Linked DNA regions of Homo sapiens: region 2 is linked to region 1. The links are contacts of gene promoters, found by promoter capture Hi-C in blood cells and fetal thymus (Javierre and others, 2016). All regions are on one chromosome and are shown on one strand. The core of a region is centred on a gene start or on the middle of the fragment in contact, and the rest is flanking DNA. Distances in the headings are between cores, read along the strand shown.

Region 1 (6,275 bases), core at 2,646-5,145:
GCCAAGCTACTGGCTAAGAACAGACAAACTTTCCTGCTTCAGACCACAAAGCTGACCCGTCTTGCCAGACGCATGTGCAGGGACCTATTACAGCCAAGGAGGGCCGCCCGACGGCCTTATGCTCCTATCAATGCCAATGCCATCAAAGCAGAGTGTAAGGGCAGGGAGTGGTGGGACTGGTGGTGGGTTTCGGATTGCTCTGCCCAGAGACCGTTGTTTCTCTGGATGTCTAATAACAGGAGGGATAGTAGGCCACAGATAATTTTTTTAAGATTAGAGTTGGCTTCTGGCCTTAGAGGAGACCTGAATGGTGAAGCCCTTCAGAAGCTTTCTTCTTTGTTCTCCAGGCTCCATTCGACTTCCTAAGGCCGCCAAGACTCCATTGAAGATTCACCCTCTGGTGCGGCTGCCCCTGGCAACTATCGTCAAAGATCTGGGTATGGGATGGGGACCAGTGAGGTTGGCATCAGGCTCCCAGTCCTTTCCCTGTCTGACATCTCTCCCCTTGCTTTTTTTCTTCCTCATAGTGTCCTCAGAGATTTAGTCTAACAAACTGTACTTTTGTTGTTTAATAATTTTTTTTGTAAACTATTCAGTATTACTGTACTGATTTGATAAGGTCATACTGATATTTGAAATACTAGTGATAGCTTGCCAGAACATTCCCCCATTGCTACTTTTGGGGATGCCCAGGTAAACTGCTGGTCCAGGGAAGAGAGATGGAAGTAACAAAGGGGAACTGCGTGGGAAGAAAAGGTGCGAAAGTTTTCTGTTTTTTTCCAGTGGCCCAGGCACCCCTGAAACCAAAAACACCTCGGGGTACCAAGACACCGATCAACAGAAACCAGCTGTCCCAGAACCGGGGACTGGGGGGCATTATGGTGAAACGGGCCTATGAGACTGTGAGTTGACAGAAAGGGGTGGGCCAGATTGAGTTGGGTGGGCTTTTGTCTCTCATAGGAGTCTGAGAGGGTCCCTTCCCTCATTGTGCCATCCTACCCCTTTTCCAGATGGCAGGGGCAGGGGTTCCTTTCTCTGCCAATGGAAGGCCTCTGGCTTCAGGGATTCGTTCAAGCTCACAGCCAGCAGCCAAGCGTCAGAAACTAAACCCAGCTGATGCCCCCAATCCTGTGGTGTTTGTGGCCACAAAGGATACCAGGTAAGGCGTCTACCATGGGAGGGGCTGAGAGGGACAGTCCAGGCTGGTGAGTGTGGGGAGTAGGAGTATCAGAGCAAGAGCTCCAGGAAAGTTGTGGATGCAGGGTGGGGATGCCAGAAAAGAATGGGCCAGAAGGCATAATTGCAGTGTGGGGCTTCACCTGGAGGTCTTAATGTTCTCTAAGCCTTTTCTGTTTCCCACTTGCTCTTTCTGGCCAGGGCCCTACGGAAGGCTCTGACCCATCTGGAAATGCGGCGAGCTGCTCGCCGACCCAACTTGCCCCTGAAGGTGAAGCCAACGCTGATTGCAGTGCGGCCCCCTGTCCCTCTACCTGCACCCTCACATCCTGCCAGCACCAATGAGCCTATTGTCCTGGAGGACTGAGCACCTGTGGGGAAGGGAGGTGGGCTGAGAGGTAGAGGGTGGATGCCCAGGGCACCCAAACCTCCCTTCCCTTTCGTGTCGAAGGGAGTGAGGAGTGAATTAAGGAAGAGAGCAAGTGAGTGTGTGTCCCTGGAGGGGTTGGGCGCCCTCTGGTGTTACCACCTCGAGACTTGTCTCATGCCTCCATGCTTGCCGATGGAGGACAGACTGCAGGAACTTGGCCCATGTGGGAACCTAGCCTGTTTTGGGGGGTAGGACCCACAGATGTCTTGGACAGTTTTGGGGGGAGGGTTTTTTAATTTTTTAAAAATTTTGCCTCCCTTTGTGAAAGGGGATGGGGAGGGGAAGAGTAAACAGATAACAGGTGGTGGTACCTGGTTGGGGGAGGGGGGCGTGCACTGCCATGTCTTTTTTTTTTTTTTTTTTTTTTTTTTTCCTAATTGGGGGTTTCTCTTTCTGTCCGGTGTCCGGACTTTCCTAATTGGAGTTTGAGGCCCCTAAGCTGGCATCAACCCCAGGCCACGCTCGCTCTTTCCTTCCCTCCCCTCCCCCTCTGCCTTTTGTACGCCAGTTCTCAGAAATAAAGATCTTTTGTCCGTTTTTTTAACCTCGGATTCTGTAATTGGTTCTTATAGTAACAAATAAAAAGCTGTTTTCTTCAGCTTCTCCTGGCTCAGCTGTTCTTTGCCATGGGTGTGTGTTGTGTGTGTGTTGGGGGTGTCTTTGAGAGGGAAAATAAAGGACAAAGGACAACAAAGGAGGTACAGATGGTTCTTGCCCTGGGAACAGCTTTATGAGATAGGCAGCCTGGACCCAGGCGGCTTGCTCCAGCTAGGCTTCTTGTGGGACCCAAACTGCTCCCCAGCTCCCAGTGGTGCTGGAGCTCAAGAACCATCTTGGCCCAGATTCATTCAAAGGAGTTGAGATGAGCTTTCTGGATGACTGGTGGCCTCCATAGGAAAGGGGAATGGGGGTGTTTCTTCCTCTGTTTCCCACCTCTTACTCCCCTCTCCCTTTTGTTTAAGGAATTCTGGAAGTTGCTAGCAGCCAGGGTAACATGTATACCCCCTTGGGGGTGGTGGTGGGGTTATAGGAGGATCCCCTCACCTAGCTGTGTGGTGTATTTGGCAGACGAGAATTCTACCACTGAACCACCCTAGCACCTCTGGGTGTATGTGTACAGCCTGCTGCTTCAGGATCCTCAAGGCCAGTCTCGATGATATCCCGATCCACTGTAGCACTGTTTCCTGCCTTAAAGGTTTGGGACACTGAGATTAGATGCCTGAGCTGGGCCCATTAGAAGGAACACCTTAGGATAGAGAACAAGAAGTTCAGCCTGCTGTGTGCTCCTTGGGCACTTCCTTTAGAGATGGGAAACGGCCTCAACAGTTGTGACTTGTTCAAGGTCAAAGACCTTGGTGTCTGCCTTAGGTCCACTGCTCTTTGCGCCATTCAAAGCTGTGGGCTGATAACCACAGCACAAGCTGCTGAGCCCATCTGATAGTTCTCTCCACCTCGTTATGGTCCCTGTCCCTAGGGCATCCCCAGCTCCCCGTAGTCCCTCCCTGTCCTGAGCCTACACCTCGGCGGCGTTGGGATGAACTGACAATTATACCAGGAGGGGGTTGACAGCATTCGCCCCCTCCAGTGTCTAAACTCAGTTACTGGCACTCGGTTTTGTCTTGTCGCACTGCTCTGAGGTGCGCCAGTAGCTCTGGCGCCTCCGGCGTACACCACGCAGCCCACTACTGCGGAAGGAATGGGCCTGGCTCCAGGACCTCGTGGAGTCCGGAAGGTGCCCGGTGGTGGCAGAGCTCCCCAACCAGGGCTAGAAGCCGTCGCAGAACACCCGTTTTGCGGGAGGACAGGGGGCGGAGGGAGGGAGTAACAGCCCTGAAAAGGTTGGAAGTCCAGGGACAGCCCTGGGCTCCGTGGGGCAAAGAATTGGAAGCCGCCGATCCTCCGCCTTTATTCGTCGGGTAAATAAGGGTCGAGGGTACAGACGCACGGGTGTCTACTGCGGGGTGAAGGAGCTGCCGCAAGATGCCACCCGGCGCCGGCCTTTGTGGCTGCTGTCATGAATATTCACGATGCTTTGGGCCAATCAACGTCTGAACAGCTTAAAGCACACCAATCGGCTTACCGCATGCAGATAAGCATCGTAACGCGCCGCTTTTCCTGAAACGGGCGGGGACTGGACAGCGGCTAGAAACGGAACCCAGAGTCGAAGGAGCTTGGTTTCCGGAGGAGTGTGTCCGCGCAATTGAACGACTTTATGTCACTTCCTATCGGATCGGCGGAAGTTGCTTCCGAGCGCGTTGAGCTTTGGCGAAGTGGGTTCCGGTGGTGGCAGAGGTGCTTGTGTTTTTGTCGGTACAGGAGAGTCGCTATGGCGGCGGTGGATTCGGATGTCGAATCGCTGCCGCGTGGGGGGTTCCGCTGCTGCCTCTGCCACGTTACTACAGCCAACCGTAAGCGGTGGCTAGTGAGGGACCCGGGGGTGGTTGCGGGCTTTCGTCTTTTGATCCTGGCGAAAGTTAGGGTTATAGGTAGTCAGTCGTTCTTGTCAAGTTGATTGGTAGGGTCTCTCACCTCCGTTTTTCTCTGCAAGTCCGAGGGGATTTGGAGAGTCGGGAAAGTTCCACCACATTACACTCCTCAGTATATGAAATCTCCACAACGCAAGTTTAATTGTTTTATTACTTCTTTAACCATCATCTATTGGACATATGCTCTGTGCCTGGTATTCTGCTGATCTTTAGGGTGGGGGAGGGGGGTTCAGAGATGAAGGAGCTCACCGTCTAGAGAATGAGAAAGTTTCAATGCTTTATAGATATGTTCGGAGAACTGTGGGACCACAGAGAATTAGTAACTAAATCAGAGAAGCCCTACAGAGGACCTACTCAAAGGAGGGGATGGATGAAATAGGTGTGGCATGAATGACTAGACCATAAGGTACCAGTGAGGAAGAGACAGAAGATGGGTTTGGAAAAATAGACAAGGTTCTTGTATGACACACAAGGGGTTCACTGTAACTTCAAATTCCACTTTTTTTTTTTTTTTGAGACAAGGTCTTGCTCTGTCACCCAGGCTGCAGTGCGGTGGTGTGATCTTGGCTCACTGCAGCCTCAACCTCCCGGGCTCAAACCATACCCCTGGCTAGCCTCCCAAGTAGTTGAGTCTACAGGTGTGCACCACCATACTTGGCTAATTTCTTTTTTCTTTTTTTTTTTTTTTTGAGACAGAGTCTCACTCTGTCACCCAGGCTGGAGTGCAGTGGCACGATCTTGGCTCACTGCAAGCTCCACCTCCTGGGTTCACCCCATTCTCCTGCCTCAGCCTCCCGTGTAGCCGGGACTACAGGCACCCGCCACCACGCCCGGCTAATTTTTTGTATTTTTTAGTAGAGACGAGGTTTCACCATGTTAGTCAGGATGGTCTCGATCTCCTGACCTCGTGACCCGCCCGCCTCGGCCTCCCAAAGTGCCGGGATTACAGGCCTGAGCCACCGCGCCCGGCCTACTTGGCAAATTTTTTAGTTTTTTGTAGAGATGGGTTTTCACCATGTTGCCTAGGCTGGTCTCCAATTCCTGGCCTCAAGCGATCTTCCCATCTTGGCCTCCCAAAGTGCTGGGATTACAGGCGTGAGCCAATGTGCCCAGCCCTACTTTTGAAGTCTGGAATCACAGTGTTCCCTAAACAGGGTTTACTTCCATTCTTCCTTTTCACTGTGAATGGCACTATCACTGTTCATCCAGTAAGCCAAGCCAGAAACCTAGGAGTCTTCTTTGGCCCCACATTTACTTTGGTGACATCAAGCAGCTAACTCAATAAAATAATAGCAACGGTTAGTTTTTCAACATTTACCGTGTACCAGACTCTCTCTGCCAAGTGATATATCTGAATAATACCTGTGTGTGAGGTGCTAGATACTGATATTTCCATTTTATATCTGAGGAAGTTGATGCACAGTGAGGCTTCATAACTTGACCAAGGTCTCACACAGGTTGACAGAGCTGGGATTTGAACTTGGGCAATGTAATTTCAGATCCTGCCTTTGACATCACTATATTATACCATGTCCAAAGATGATCCACAAAGTATTCCATGATCCAAATTTTTTTAGTTCTTGTGTAGATGACCTGGATAAGTTACCTGTTAATTTGTTTCCAACTCTACCTAGCACAAATAGGTGGTTTAAGAAATACTTTACTATCACACTGTTCTTTAAGTAAAAATAAACAAAATACTTGTAGTGTAGCCAGTTCTCCTGGGAACCCTCGTCTCTACTAAAAATACAAAAATTAGCCGGGTGTGGTGACACACGCCTGTAGTCCCACCTACTCACGAGGCTGAGGCAGGAGAATTTCTTGAACCTGGGAGGCAGACGTTGCAGTGAGTGGAGACTGCGCCACTGAACTCCAGCGGGGGCGACAGTGAGACTCTGTTTAAAAAAAATAAATTAAAAAAAAAAGAATGTACTATTTAGACAAATGTATAAGAGAGGAAGGTGAAAGGAGCCAGGACTTTGTTTATTCAAAGGTCACAGTTTCTGTGGCTTGGAAGGATCAGTAAGATTTAGGTATGCAGAGAGCAAAGGCAGACACGTCGAAGAGTGCTTTGCATGTTTTTGTCTCACACTTGTCTTTGCAGGACCCAGCCTTGATGCCCACTTGGGAGGCAGAAAGCACCGGCACCTGGTAGAACTACGAGCTGCGAGAAAGGCCCAGGG
Region 2 (6,275 bases), core at 1,141-3,640, 170 kb after region 1:
CCCCGAACCTGGCCGGGAAGAGGTGTGCACATGTGCACAGCGGGCCCTGTGGCACACTCAGCTCATGGACAGAGCAGCCACTTGTACCACTTCATTCCCTTCAACACAGAGCTTCCAGACTCTGTTTTCTTCTCAGGTCCTTACAACCAGGAACATGGGGGAAAGTCACCATTTTCTACCCACTGCTTGCCTCCATCTTCCCAGTGAGTCTCAAATCCCTTTTCCTTGAATTCTCTGCCTTCTGAACAAATTTGCCTTCCCTCCTCTGACTCTAGGGCCTCACTAGAAATTGCCACTCCAAGTCAGACCCTCTCCAGAACTTAGGTCCTTGATGTGTAACTTACTGTGTCACCAGGCAAGTCACTCTGTGTTTCTGTAGCTCAGTTTTCTCATCTGTAAAATGGGAACAATATCCCTACTTCATTTTATTTTTTATTTTTTAAATTTTAATTTAATTTAAATTTTATTTTTATTTATTTATTTGTTTTCAGACGGAGTCTCGCTCTATTGCCCAGGCTGGAGTGCAGTGATGCCATCTCGGCTGACTGCAACCTCTGCCTCCCAGGTTCAAGTGATTCTCCTGCCTCGGCCTCCCAAGTAGCTGGGACTACAGGCATGCGCCACCATGCCTGGCTAATTTTTGTATTTTTAATAGAGACAAGGTTTCACCATGTTGGCCAGGTTGGTCCTGAACTCCTGACCTCAAGTGATCTACCCACCTCGGCCTCCCAAATTGCTGGGATTACAGGCGTGAGCCACCGTGCCTGGCCCAATATCCCTACTTCATAGGGTTGTTGTAAGAATAAAAAGAGAGGCCAGGCATGGTGGCTCACGCCTAATCCCAGCACTTTGGGAGGCCTAGGTGGGTGGATCACGAGGTCAAGAGATGGAGACCATCCTGGCCAACATGGTGAAACCCTGTCTCTACTAAAAATACAAAAATTAGCTGGGTGCAGTGGTGCGTGCCTGTAATCCCACCTACTTGGGAGGCTGAGGCAGGAGAATCGCTTGAACCCGGGAGGCGGAGGTTGCAGTGAGCTGAGATCGCGCCACTGCACTCCAGCCTGGCAACAGAGCGAGACTCTGTCTCAAAAAAAAAAAAAAAAAAGAATGAAAAGAGATATTATGTGAAAGGGTGACAGTGATTGGCACATTGTGTGAAGTAAGTGTTAAATATTGTATGCATGTGCACACAAATAGACAAATGCATCTCTGACCCACCCCTTAACATGTTGCAGTCCTATCTTGCTCAGCCACCCACCTCTGTACGCAGACAGCACTGAGATCTTCTAATTAATACACATTTCAGTCCAAAATGATGTCATTTTCTCTGAAAAACAAATAAACCTCTCTGCAAAATAGTTGTTCCTACTGCTTCTTGGTTTGGGTTTTCTAACTCCCCAGGGTCATAAAACTTATCTCCATGGGTGTTGTGAAGCTTTCCAAGTGAATTAATTGGAGTTTGTTTATTAAAAAATAACAACAGCATTTTCAGATGAGAATGGAAGAGGCTGACGCAGAGTGAAAAACAGAGTTAGATAACCCAGTTCCCCAAAGACGGGGGATCTTGGAGAGAGCTGTGATCCTTCTTTCCTTCCTTTCTCCCCCTCTCTCCGTCTCTCTTTCTGCCCCTCTTCCCCCCACAGTTCTTTTCCTTTTAGTGACAGCAGCAACTACTCAGAGACTCCTAATCCCTTTTGCAGAGGACGGAAATGTTTAGAAAACTTCACTCTGGGTTGGCAGTTCCCCAAAGGGAAGCTCTCTTTCTGGAATATTCCTCTGTGCCCAGAATGAGAGACCTTGTCTTGGGTTGGGTTTCTTTTGGGGTCACGAGTCCCTGCAGCTCCCCTTCCAGTGACTTCAGCTGCCAGCATGGAGTGGAGACCCCAGACTTGGAGGCTGCACCAAGGTCTCAGCATCTTGGAGTCTGTCCAGATCTGGGATGAGGGCCTCATTATTCCTATGCTGGATGTACTCATCTTTATGGGGTATTCTCCACTCCTCCCTCCAGGCTATTCCATTCCCTGGGATTCTGAGGGTTGTTGGATATAGAAGATGGGACCCTTTTTAGGCTTCCTTACAGCCTGGGGCTCTCTCCAAGTTTCCAAGATGAGCTTGCTCACCAGACCCAGTTTTCTGAGACTCAGCATGCCCAGGTCCTCCCAGCAGCTCCAGAGCAGGAATGGGCAGCTCACTCCTTCTTCTGAGCAGAACTGGGGGGTCCTGAGAGTTCCTAAGTCCAGGAGGGAGGGAAGGGTCTCTGAGCACTCACCGGAGCTGCAGCAGAGAGCCAGTGTGACCAGGGTGAGGGTGACAGCGAGTTTCATGGTGGAGGAGGGGGATGCTCTGGCCCGTCTCTGGTTCCGTCTCTGAGTCTGGTGGGCTAGTATGAGACATGCCCAGCAAGGTGCCTTTTATATGCTCTAGGCAGCAGCACCCAGATGGGGAAGGGCAGGGCAAGGGCTCTACATAAGATACTGCACTATTTACTTGGCATTGGCTTGGTGGGATAGGTAAATATTCCCTTTTCTCAACCCAGTTTCTGTCCCCACTGAAACTGAGCTCACACAATGGGCCACTTGGGGGTGGAGGGCCGAGCCCTGCCTGGAGGCAGTGAAGGGAACCCAAGTCAGAGGATGTGGAAACCCAGCTGCCTGTGTCACTCACTGAACCTGGGCACTGGGGCAGTCCAGATCAAGAGAAGCAATTGTGGAGCCCACCTGGAGAAACTGAGGCCCAAGTTCCCTCACAAGTGGCAGGGACAGGACTAGGACTAGGACTCAGGACCCTGACACTCCACTGGGCTCTTTCATAGGCTCCCCTCTGAGGAGGGCGACTGAACCTTAAGCCAGGAAAGACACATGGTTTGGAGCATTGCTGTGGTCAGACTTCGGGGGCCCCTGGATTGAAGCATGTTGAATAAAAGGGACCCTTCCAGAATTCCCATCAGAAACCTGAGCCCTGCCCCAGGCTGGGTCTGTTCCCACCCAGAAGTGCTCTCAAGTCCTGTGCTCCTGATGGCCCAATTGGTGGGACCTTCAGTCCTTATCTCACTTGACCTCCCAATGGCCTTGACACCTGTGACTGCTTCCTTCTCGAACCATTCTCTCTCTTGCGCTCCCACGCCTCAGTTCTTTCCTGTTTTCCTTCTTCTGGCCATTCCTTCTTGTTCTCTTTAGATGTTTATTCTTTACTGTTCTTAAGTGTTGATGGTTCCCAGGCTTTGGCCTTCTCCCCTTTCTTGCCTCCAGTTGCCATTTCCTGGTTCTTCTCCAAAGCCCGGGCCTCATAGCACCTAACCTGGCCTGGTCAAAATCCCCTGACTCGACCTCCCTGCCTCCCTGCTAGCTCTCCTCAGCCATCCTCTGAAAGGCCATCAGAATGATCTTCCTAAAACCCACTGGTCGTGTCCTTCTTCTTGAAACCCTTAAACTCTTCCTTTTGCCTAAAGAATAAAATTCAAGTGCAATTTACAAGGCCCTTGCCCACTGACCTTTGCCTACCATTTGAACTTCATTTCTCCTCTCCCCCACACAACGACTTAGCCCTCTCTTACTATTTGTGGATTCGAGAATGTTCCATGTTTTTTCATGCCTTTCTACCTATGCACAAGCTAAGCCTCATGCCTGAATACACATTTCCTGCCTTGTCCACTTCGCCAAATTCTATTCGTACTTCAAGACTCAATCAAATATTGATCCATTCATTCATCCAATAAATGCTGACCACCTATGATGTGCCAGATGTGGTGCTAGGAGTCGGGAACTGGGGTAGATAGACATGGAGAGGCATTGCGTGGCACTTCAAGAACTCCTCAAAAATAAATAAATAAATAAAAATAAATAAACAAATAAAAGGCCAGACAGGGTGGCTCATGCCTGTAATCCCAGGACTTTGGGAGGCTGAGGCAGGTGGATCACCTAAGGTCAGGAGTTTGAGACCAGCCTGGCTGACATGATGAAACCCCGTCTCTACTAAAAATACAAAAATTAGCTGGATGTGGTGGTGGGCACCTGTAATCCCAGCTACTTGGGAGGCTGAGGCAGGAGAATTGCTTGAATCTGGGAGTCATAGATTGCGGTGAGCTGAGATCACGCCATTGCACTCCAGCCTGGGCAACAAGAGCAAAACTCCGTCTCAGAAAAAAAAAAAAAAAAGAAGGACCCCATTGTGCCTGAGGGCTTCGAAAGGGTTGCTGTGCCTGCAAAGGGGGCATTCAGGGGCCAGAGCACACAAGGCCTCGTTCTAAGGCCTTTACACTCAGAGTGGGAAGCTCTTGAAGGTTTTAATCAGGGAGTGACATGGTCTGATATCCCTTTCCTGATGAACTGACCCTGACTTGGGCAGCTGGGGGAATGGGGTGTTATTTCCTGACACAGAGAAGACTTGGGAAAAATAGGGTTGGGGGTGAAAATAGGGAGTGAAGCCTTCCCCGACAGGTGGTTCTGATGGGTGGTGACTCTCCCCATGGGCCTCTCTTCCCCCTCTGCTTACAGGGCCCATTATACAATATTTTAACTTTGCAATTCTTATTTTCTTGTATGACTCCTTTACTTGACTGACCTCCTTTAGGGCTGAGGCCGCTGTAAGCCAAGGTACGCAACGCTTGCTAAACAGGAATCCCTGGAATGAATCCATGCATGAGGCCTTTGTGCCATGTGACAGTTGAAGGCTGTGGTGACCCCGGAACCGTCCCACTCCGAGACGCCTTAACACCGGTAAGAGCACACGTTCTAAACTAGCAACCAACAAAGACTTGTCAAGTACGTTATGGTGTGTCCTTACAATGAAACGCTGTGTGGCTGAAAACAGAGAAAGAAGATCTTCTGAGCTGATGGTGAAATGATCTCCAAGGCAGACTGCAAAGGGGGAAAAACAAGGCATGAATAGAGCAAAAAAGAACAAAGAGAAGGCTGGGCGCGGTGGCTCACGCCTGTAATCCCAGCACTTTGGGAGGCTGAGGCGGGTGGATCACAAGGTCAGATTGAGACCATCCTGGCCAACATAGTGAAACCCCGTCTCTACTAAAAAAATACAAAAAGCTGGGTATGGTGGCGCTTGCCTGTAATCCCAGCTACTCGGGAGGCTGAGGCACGAGAATCACTTGAGCCCAGGAGGCAGAGGTTGCAGTGAGCCGAGATCATGCCACTGCACCTCCAGCCTGGTGACAGAGCATGACTCCGTCTCAAAAAAAAGCAAAAAGAATCCACATATGCATTTGCTTGTATTTGCATAAAGCATCTCAGAAGTGCCTTCTTTCTTTTAAGTTTCCTTCTGTGTCCCATCATCTGGGCTCTTGAGGTTAGCCCATCTTGAGGATTTCAGGTGTCTGCATCCCTCCCCTCTTAGGGACTGTTGAAAGGTGTAGCCTGCCTGTAACCCCAGCACTTTGGGAGGCTGAGGAGGGCAGATCAACTGAGGTCGTCGAGAGTTTGAGACCAGCCTGGCCAACATGGTGAAACCCCCTCTCTACTAAAAATACAAAAATTAGCCGGGCGTGGTGGCAGGTGCTTGTAATCCCAGCTACTTGGGAGGCTGAGGCAGGAGAATCACTTGAGCCCAGGAGGTGGAGGTTGCAGTGAGCCGAGATCACACCATTGCACTCCAGCCTGGACAACAAGAGCGAAACTCCATCTCAAAAATAAATAAATAAATAAACAAACAAACAAACAAAAGAAAGCTGTGGCCAATGGAGCTGAAATGGGCAAGGAAGATGAGCTGGACCACTGGGGGCACCTAAAGCCCATCCAGTGCCGCCACTAGTGGATCCCTCTGTGGGCAGTGGCTGGTCTGGCCGGGGCAGCTGTGATGGCTGCAGGGGTCTTAGGCAGGAGTCACATCACCCATAGCCTCAGACTCTGCTCTCTACTTTCCACCTTCATGGTGCGAGGTCCTGGGGACAGGATAGCTGGCTCCTGGGTCTTTGAGGAACTTAACAGCTAGGAGGAGAGACAGAGATGGGTGCAACTGATGGGAATGCTCTGTGGGGAGATGGAGGAAGTCAGAGAAGGAAATGGTGCTCCGGGAGTTGAAAGGGGGCTGCCCCCAGGCTGGGCGTGGTGGCTCATGCCTGTAATCCCAGCACTTTGGGAGGCCAAGGCAGGCGGATCACCTGAGGTTGGGAGTTCGAGACCAGCCTGAACAACATGGAGAAACCCTGTCTGTACTAAAAATACAAAATTGGCTGGGCTTGTGGTGGTGCTTGCCTGTAATCCCAGCTACTTGGGAGGCTGAGGCAGAAGAATCGCTTGAACCTGGGAGGCAGAGGTTGCGGT

What was found. The method cuts DNA at HindIII sites, captures the fragments that hold promoters and counts their contacts. A CHiCAGO score of 5 or more calls a contact.
Region 2: the fragment with the promoter of SCGB1A1 here is called in contact with the fragment with the promoter of TUT1 in region 1 in 5 of 17 cell types (endothelial precursors, monocytes, erythroblasts and 2 more); the score reaches 7.0 in endothelial precursors.

The regions. Positions count from the first base shown.
Region 1 is chr11:62,589,143-62,595,417 of GRCh38, reverse strand. TUT1 (terminal uridylyl transferase 1, U6 snRNA-specific) reads left to right here and starts at 3,895. Exons shown (of 9, transcript NM_022830.3): 1 at 3,895-4,014; 2 at 6,197-6,275. The coding sequence starts at 3,933. It overlaps MTA2 (metastasis associated 1 family member 2), which reads left to right. Exons shown (of 18, transcript NM_004739.4): 14 at 1-154; 15 at 348-437; 16 at 784-902; 17 at 1,011-1,159; 18 at 1,378-2,204. The coding sequence ends at 1,543. RefSeq lists enhancers at 3,744-3,973, 3,390-4,085. The HindIII fragment of the contact is 7,198 bases long and covers 330-6,275 here.
Region 2 is chr11:62,415,148-62,421,422 of GRCh38, reverse strand. It overlaps SCGB1A1 (secretoglobin family 1A member 1), which reads right to left and starts at 2,390. Exons shown (of 3, transcript NM_003357.5): 1 at 2,273-2,390. The coding sequence starts at 2,327. It overlaps LOC102723765 (a long non-coding RNA gene), which reads left to right. Exons shown (of 4, transcript XR_007062699.1): 2 at 4,573-4,718. RefSeq lists a silencer at 3,072-3,366. The HindIII fragment of the contact is 29,364 bases long and covers 1,441-6,275 here.